Linked DNA regions of Homo sapiens: all the other regions are linked to region 2. The links are contacts of gene promoters, found by promoter capture Hi-C in blood cells and fetal thymus (Javierre and others, 2016). All regions are on one chromosome and are shown on one strand. Each heading gives the region's core, a stretch centred on a gene start or on the middle of the fragment in contact. The rest is flanking DNA. Distances are from core to core; before and after follow the strand shown.

Region 1 (2,700 bases), core at 150-2,649, 6.0 Mb after region 2:
CCCAGGAGCACAGGAGATCAGCCTGAGGGCAATATAGTGAGGGCTTGTCTTTCAAAAAAAAAAAACCTTAAAAAAAAAGTAGCCAAGTGGTGGCACACGCCTAGCAGGAGGCTCGCTTGAGCCTAGGAGGTGGAGGTTGCACTGAGCCAAGATCATGCCACTGCACTCCAGGCTAGGCAACAGAGCAAGAATGTTTCTAAATAAATAAATACATAAAATAAAATCCTTAAGCCAATCTTCATTTACCAACCAATTTTTAATTCTTTTATTTGTTACCACATTGTCTCTCCTGAATATCCAAAGGCTCAAAGCCTTGGTTTGAATGCAGCTAAATTCATTGGGTTTGATCTCAAGTCAAACTTAGAAATACTGTCATCTCAGCCACAAATTTCACACTAAAGTAGATAGAAACCACTACTAAATCACTACTTTGTCTTAAAATGAAAGTATAATAGACTGTAAGGTTATAATTGCTTTTTTAAGTTAAACTTTGTTTTACATTTACAGAAAATTTGCAAAAATGGAGTCCCCACACCCCCTTCATCCAATTTCCCCTACCATTAATATCTTACAATACCATGGTATATCTGTCACAATAAAGAAATCGGTATTGGCACTATTACCTAAATTCCACACTTTGTTCAGATTCGCTAGTTTTCCATTAATGTCCTTTTTCTGCTGGAGATCCCAGCCAGGATACCACATTACATTTAATCATTATGCATCATTTTCTCTGGCATAATAGTTTCTCAGACTTTTCTTGTTTTTGAGTAGTGATTAGGTAATTTGTAAAATGCTAACCAGCGATCTCAGCTCACCATAACTTCCGCCTCTCGGGCTCAAGAGATTCTCCCACCTCAACCTCCCGAGTAGCCGGGACTACAGGCGTTCACCACCACACCAGGCTAATTTTTGTATTTTTAGTAGAAACGGGGTTTCGCCATGTTAGCCAGGCTGGTCTCCAACTCCTAACCTCAAGTGATCCGCCCGCCTCGGCCTCCCAAAGTGCTGGGATCACAGACGTGAGCCACCGCGTTCGGCCCCTTTTTCTAATATTGTCTAAAATAAGTATCCTAAACAGGAAATACCAAAAAAATCCCCCTCGCTTTCGTGACCTACACCGGTAAGCGTCAGGATCTTTCGCTATGCGAGAACCTTTTGGCTCTCGTATGTGCGCATGCGTCTGGATCCGGAGCCAGGTGACCCGCTCAGACGTGGACCATGTGCGGGGGAGGGGGGAAAGGAGCCGCGAAGGGGGTGGTAGACGGAACAGGTGGAGCCGCGGCGGGGCTAGGCGGGGCGGGGAGTGAAACAGCATAGGCTCCGCCCCTCGCGGCGCTTCCCCCGGAATAGCGTCATCAGTTCTATAAGAGAGCGTGTGCCGAAGGCCTCGGCCTTTCACATTCGGGAAGCGTCGGGATTAGGTGAAAGTACGTAGTTGTCTTTCGTAAGTTAAAATGATAATTGGGCCGAAACTTACTGCCTTACCTAAAAGGCAGCGCAGTCAGGATATTGGTAGGTCGGGGGCGGCTTTGGAAACCCTTAAGTTTACAAGCATGCGCGGACTTGAGTGCTCATTAGGTCGCCGGGCGTCCACGTGCAGCCCTGGACCCTGAACCCCGGCGTGCGTGGGCCGTGGGCCCTCGGGGAAAGGTTCCGTGCACTCGGGGACTCCGGTGAAGCCTGTTCAGCCGTCTGTGTCATGTGGCCATCTTGAGTCTACTCTGTCGCTCTTGTGCCCTAGCACCCCGAGAACCGTCAGTTTGAGCCAGATGGTGAGTAATAACCTGTAGCAGTTTGGTTGCTGGTTAATTCTGGATTGTGAATCTCCATGTATCTTTGGGACCTGTCAGCCGTGGCAGTCTCCCTTCCTAGCCATGGAAGAGCATATCCTTGTTTATTGGCAAAGCTGTCACCATTTAATTGGTATCAGATTCTGACTTGCACAAGTAACATTCACTGTTAAAAACCTAGAGGGTGCCGGGTTATTGGGCAAAATTTCTAAACCGTTGTTCAATGTTTCTAGGAAGCTGAGCTGAACACATTACGATGGATGATGGAAACATAAGGTACATTTCTTTTTTGATATTTCTGAGTTAATCTGAAACGCCTTAGCGGCAGGACGTTGGAAAGCTAAAGTTGGCCCGTTTTGCTGGCTTTTGTAGTTTGAGTTAACAACCAACTGAATTAGCTGATAAGATCTCAAAACAGTGAGGTAAGTACACAGCTCGGAGTTTTATAATGCTTTTTTTCTCTTGCAGACTATCAAGAAATCCAAGTGGTAATGGGCGAAGTTTATTCAGCATCCGGCAATGGACTTATCGTAGTTGGGGAAACGGGTGTTCCGAATAATATCCTGGAAGTTATCAGGACACCTATTTTAAATATAGGCCTGAATTTTGTAAAGTAATATTTAAGGTGGTCCGTGATAATTAAATAAAATGCTTAATTCATGTGGCTACTCATTGTTCCTTGACTGAGTGATTAATAGACGGAAAGGTAGTTAATAGCATAATACCTCCTATTTAGTGTTACACGCTCATGTGGAAGTAGTGTGAGTACAGTTCTAAGGTAATTGCAGCCTTTGTGAAAAATGTAAAATATAAAAATTACCAGGCTACCCCCAAGGGAGACAGCAGACTCTTTTTAAACCATACAAAAATTTAAGGCAGTTATACAAGGTGGAAAATTATGTATTTA
Region 2 (2,700 bases), core at 72-2,571:
CAGATTCATTTCAGGGTGTGTTCATCAATACTGTGTTCCTATTTGTTACTAAATATTCCATAGGATAGATGTACCAGTTTCTGTAAACATTTATAGTTGAATTTTAATGATTATTTCATTAATACATTTGTCTAATTTCAGGGGTTGGAAGGAGAAAAGAAAATGCTTTCACTAGGAAGTCATTCGGTCATCCCAACATTCACTGAAAGCAAACCATTGGGACAAATGTTATCCTATGCTTCTGATTACAAAACAACTAAAACCCAAATAAAATAAACATTAGTAAGTAGCAGTGCTAAGATTGAAACCAGATACGTATTTAAAGAAGCAAGAAAATGAGTTCAGAGAACATTTTATCATCAATAAAAACTTTCTAAAATGTAACAATTTTTCTAGGTTTAATTAAACAGGCTAAAAACTTGATGTGTCCAGTCCATGAGAGCATCCTCCTATCCACTGGACGAGGTGTCTACTAAACCACATCTTATATCTATTGTGAGGCCAACTGTCTTGAGGCCAAACAAGACGCGAATTATATGGTAGCACTTGAGAGGGCTGCGGACACATTAGAGCAGCTTTCTCTTCCCATCTACAGCAGTTCTGGGCAGCATGCTTGGAATGGCAACGCTGACGTCCCCGAAAAACCCCAGCCCTCTTGCCAATTTCCTCTGAACCCCAACTACCCAACCCAAAATTATGTGAAGATCTGATTTTCAAACAAAACGAGGACAATAATGCACCATTATTACGTTTCCCTAAAACATTAACAGTATGGAAATTAAGACACAAACCAGAGACCGGAAAAAAATCTTGGTGCGTTCAAAGTAACCTCAATCAGTTCCCGAGTCTATTTTCCGCTTATGGTGCAGTATTAACAAAAACTAAGCACACCGTGCAGAGAAACGCCCCTTCGCACTTATGACTTCCGGCCTGGGACTCTGGCTCCTCACACGCCTTTGATACAAAGTTCGAAGGCTGAGCCTTAGCCATGCCACGCCCAGCGTGCTCCGGACGAGGATGCCCGAAACTGCAATGAGAGAGGGAAATTTCCTAGTCAGGTCAAGGTCCAACAAAACAAACGTCCGCACGCAGGAATTGAACCGTCTCGCAGGCAGAGGCGGCTGAACCAGGAGCGAGCGGAAGTGACGCACAGGCCGGTCGCCAGAGAAGGCGGGGCACCGAGGTAGCGCGCCCAATTGGGGCGCGGGAGAGGCCGGGGGTGTGGCAGCGTTGGCGGCGAGCAGGGGCCTGGGCGCGCTGGGGGCGGGGCCAGGGTGCTCGGCTCGCGGGGACTGGCCTCCTTCGGCAGCTGGAGGCGGTCACTCACGCTGGGCTAGGAGCTGAGGCGAGAAGGGCCATGCGGACGGCGAGGGAGTCCAGAGCCTTGAGCCCGGTGCTCCTCCCTCGCGCAGCGGTGGCTCTGCGGCCGCTGGAGTAAACACTGCCTTTGTTCCCTAGCGCCTCGTCTTTCGTCGCCCCGTGCCCTCACGCCGCCGGGCTCTGGCCGGCCCGCCCTCGGTCCTTGAACCCCATTTCGGCTCGTGCCGTGCGGATGCAGCTGCCGGGCCTGGGTTTGGGCATTGAGCGGGAGGAGGAGGAGGAGCGGCGGCGCCTGGGCGGCATGCGATGGGGAACTGCTGCTGGACGCAGTGCTTCGGACTGCTTCGCAAGGAAGCGGGGCGGCTGCAGCGAGTAGGCGGCGGCGGAGGGTAAGCCCGCTGGGGGAGGGGCCCGGCCCCCGTGGCTCCTCCTCTTCGGCCCCCGGCGGGGAATCCCTTTCACCGTCCCCCGGCGGCTGGAGGTGGCGGTCGAGAGCCCTGCTACACTCACTGCTTAGCAGACGTCAGACTGGTGGTCGTCTTGGAGGCCCAGTCTGGGGTCCGGTCTTGGGGCCTCCTCGGAAAGAGGTAGAAGAGGGGGCGGGGTGTCCCTCCTGCCAGGGCGCCCTGTCACGCGGGGAAGGAGTCACGGGAGACATCATCTCCAGGAAACAAGGGGTAGCTTCGCGCTAATGGGCTGTAGGACCGGCTCCACGGCAACCTGGACACACCCTGCGCTGAGCTTAGGTTTAACGCCAAAGCTAGTATCCCTGTATCTGACCCTCTCTTTAGCCCTGGCAGAGCAGGTGGGATCTGGCTCCGGAGTTAATGCCTCAGATTGATTTTAAGTAGAAGTCATTTGGATGCTGGAGTAAAATAAGGTTCCAGATACTGATGAACTCTGGTAGCTACAAAGACTTGCTGAATTGCAGAGTTCCCAATGGGCATTCAGATTCTTGGTGCTCATAACTACAGGGACAATGTGTAATTTTTTCGTATTAAGTTTTTGAAATTTCGAGAGGAATTCCTTGCCCTGATTGCTACTCAAACGTCCTGTAACATTAGGTAAATTGCAGTCCTTCTGAACTTCACTTCTCTTGAGTAAACCTGGGATATTGCTTAGGTTTTGTATATGCACCATCCACAGAATAGTAATTTCATAATTCCGTTTTTGTGTTTTTTTATTTCATATATATTGAAAAAATTAGAGCAAATTCCTTTGGGGTTGGCTTTGTTGTTATTAAATGTCCCTCCGGAATTCAAACCTAGAATTGAAAATCTGAACCAAGCCAGTTTGTGTAAGGACTAAGACTGTTTTGCACTTTCTGAAACAGATTGCTAATTTTTCATAATCTGTTCCATTTAACTAACATTATTGGGT
Region 3 (2,700 bases), core at 137-2,636, 6.5 Mb before region 2:
TCTCCCTTGAAGCATTTTTTTTTTTTTTTGGCACAAGTGTTATGTCCCCTACAAAACTCTGAGTACTTTAAGGGCAGAGTCTATATTTATCTTTTTGCCTATCTCTTTGCCACTTTGCAAAGTACAACAAAATAATGGCTATAGAATTACTGGAATTAAGTGATCAAAGTATAGTGGTCTTATCTCTCCTTCTACACAATTGTAGCCATTTCCAAGGTCCCTTCAGCAAAAATCACAAAAGTAACTCACCCCTGCCCCCACAAAAAAAACTCCAAACATCAAAAAAGCAAAAGCAAAGCAATCACCTCTTTCACGACTGGGGACTTGTAGTACAATGTTCCTATCTGTAAAATTCTCACAATCTTTCGCCTGTCTTGCTTAATTCATTAATCCCACTGGTCTGTAAACTTGATGACAGCAGGAACTTGTTTTGTTCACTGTTATTTCCCTAGTGCTTGAAACTTAATAAGGGCTCAAAAATATTTATCGAATGAACGAACTAGGTTTTTTGCGTAAATGTCACCTTATAAGGCTTCTGTGATCTCTCCAGTCTAAATTGGGCATTCATATATAAATATAAGTATGTGCTTTCTCCTAGATCCATTTTTCACCCTACCTGGCAATCTCAAAAGAAGTCCAAAGTTGATCATATGCACGTGCCCCAGATGAAGGAAACAGAAACTGTTCACATAGAGTGCAGTATTATCGTTGCCATTTCATAATGGCTCTAAAAAACTTTGTTCTTCATGACTTCGCAAGCTCTTGCAACCCCTTCCAATAAACATTATTTTAAAGATGCTGCCTTTTTCATTCCTCCACTGAGTTCTTGGTTCTGGATAACACTGATACCTTAGGGACACCTGGAATCGCAGGAGAAAAGGCTCCGATTCCAAACCAATCAAGTGGCTGAAAGCTGACAGCAAACACTTAGAAAAGGAATGTCAATCCTTTGATCAAAGCATCACACATCGAAGTCCTAGAATGGGGGATGGTCCTTGACAGGGGAGCCAAAAGATGAGAGACAATGAGGGAGCTACGTAGAGAAGTCACTAAAACCCTCCGACAAAGTCCGAGGCAGGATTCCAAGTCCCTTGTCCCTAGACCTAGAAATATGCTCGGTCCGCATGTCCCGGCCCGCAACTCCCTCGGAGGAAGCACAGTCCTCACTGAAAGGGGAGAGCAGTCAGTCTAGGGCACGCAACCGCCCGTAAATTATGATTCCCCTTGAGGAGCGAGGAAACTAATACCCCACGTAGCTACTCTCCCACCTCGCTCCTGGCGCGGGGGTCTCGAGCCTCCAGGAGGCCAGGAGCAGAGTCGCTCAGCATAACTCACCGTTCCGCCCCGCCCTGCCGATCCGTCTGTTCCCGGTGGTCCCTTCGGAAACGGTTCCCGCACTGGCCGGCTCCGAAAGCAGGAAAACAAAGGTTCCCACAGTAGGGGCGGGGGAAACGTTTGGCAGTGCGACAGTAGGAAGTGACGTTACTTCCCTTTTTCCGGTCCGCCGGATTATGAATGACGGCCGGCGCGAGTATTTTCCACATAAGGTGGCTGTCGTTTTTCTCCTGGCGTCTGTGGAGGCGAGTGGTCTGCGGGCAGCAGCTCCCAGAGGCAGCCTTGGAATTCCAGCTCGGACTGGGCGGGAAGGCGCAGGCGGCCCAGGTCGCCGACACGCTCACGCACCCTCCCTGCCTGGCCGCGCCTCTGCGACCAGGTAAAGAGGGCGCTCGGGCCGCCGGCTTCTCAGCCTCCGCGACCCCCTAAGAACTGGTCTTTTCTTCGGGGGTCTGCAGGGCTGAGGATGCGGGGGAAGGGTGGGAAGGACAAGGGCGTGGTATCATCGTCCTGATTTTTCTCCCGCCCTGGGGCCGCCTCAAACTCCTTTTTGGCCACTCCTGCTGAAGGTGCGGGTTGAGGGCTCTGGGCTTCTCGGTAGTACGCGTTTCCCAGTTTCCCCCTAGCCAGTCCCTCATGTCTTCCTCTGCTGATGGAGAAATGGGGCAGCTTCCAGTTGGAGGCGTTGGTTGGGGTGGTTTGATATTTGCTGTTAAGTGTTACTTCAAGACCTCTTGGGTCACACTAACTTCTCTTCTCTCTTTGGCATTGAGTTTTCCATTCCAGCCCTTCCTGATTGCAGAAAGCAGTTCTATGTGAATACTACTTAACATTTACTCCAAAGGACTTGCTTCATTTGGGGCCATTTGCTTATGTTTTGTCATCACAGCAGTATCTCTTGGGTTTTTAACTTCTATAGAAAGTTTAATTTGCATGAAAGTTGCTTTGGTTTCAAAAACGTTTGCTAATACACGTACTTCCCATCCCAACTTTCTACCTGGTTTTGGGATGAGATGACTTGTTTTTTTCCCCTTTATTCTTAATGCCAGGATCCCATTCCTTGTCATAAATTCTTGAATATCAAGAAAATGCCAGCTTTAGTAATATATTGTGTGCTACATTATTGATAAAGAAGGTGGTGTATTTCTATTTTACCTAAGCTTATCTGTAAAAACAATGTTTACAGGAGAAAATGCAAAAGCTAGCAAGAACTAGTGATGTGATAATTTTAAACATGTAAACATAGTCATTTAAATCCATGATAATAAACTGTTATAACACAACTAAGTGATTCGCTGTCATATTTAATAAACATTAAGCTATGCGGGTTTTTTTTTCTTTTTTTTTAACTGCCTGATGGGGAGC

The links. The method cuts DNA at HindIII sites, captures the fragments that hold promoters and counts their contacts. A CHiCAGO score of 5 or more calls a contact.
Region 1: a contact is called between the fragment with the promoter of SNHG8 here and the fragment with the promoter of AP1AR in region 2, in 1 of 17 cell types (non-activated CD4 T cells). The highest score is 8.2, in non-activated CD4 T cells.
Region 3: the fragment with the promoter of INTS12 here is called in contact with the fragment with the promoter of AP1AR in region 2 in 1 of 17 cell types (total CD4 T cells); the score reaches 6.4 in total CD4 T cells.

Annotation. Positions count from the first base shown.
Region 1 is chr4:118,277,363-118,280,062 of GRCh38, forward strand. SNHG8 (small nucleolar RNA host gene 8) reads left to right here and starts at 1,400. Exons shown (of 3, transcript NR_034011.1): 1 at 1,400-1,430; 2 at 2,027-2,069; 3 at 2,262-2,461. SNORA24 (small nucleolar RNA, H/ACA box 24) reads left to right here and starts at 1,828; the gene lies at 1,828-1,958. PRSS12 (serine protease 12) reads right to left here. Exons shown (of 13, transcript NM_003619.4): 13 at 2,676-2,700. RefSeq lists an enhancer at 928-1,107 and a silencer at 1,178-1,227. The HindIII fragment of the contact is 13,799 bases long and covers 1-2,700 here.
Region 2 is chr4:112,230,466-112,233,165 of GRCh38, forward strand. AP1AR (adaptor related protein complex 1 associated regulatory protein) reads left to right here and starts at 1,322. Exons shown (of 10, transcript NM_018569.6): 1 at 1,322-1,709. The coding sequence starts at 1,627. AP1AR-DT (AP1AR divergent transcript) reads right to left here and starts at 1,685. Exons shown (of 1, transcript NR_186684.1): 1 at 1-1,685. RefSeq lists enhancers at 1,095-2,042, 2,067-2,116 and silencers at 1,147-1,426, 1,587-1,856. The HindIII fragment of the contact is 11,290 bases long and covers 1-2,700 here.
Region 3 is chr4:105,707,303-105,710,002 of GRCh38, forward strand. It overlaps INTS12 (integrator complex subunit 12), which reads right to left and starts at 1,387. Exons shown (of 8, transcript NM_020395.4): 1 at 1,336-1,387. It overlaps GSTCD (glutathione S-transferase C-terminal domain containing), which reads left to right and starts at 1,482. Exons shown (of 12, transcript NM_001370181.1): 1 at 1,482-1,714. LOC124900747 (a long non-coding RNA gene) reads left to right here. Exons shown (of 2, transcript XR_007058214.1): 2 at 599-794. RefSeq lists an enhancer at 1,462-1,711. The HindIII fragment of the contact is 4,662 bases long and covers 1-2,493 here.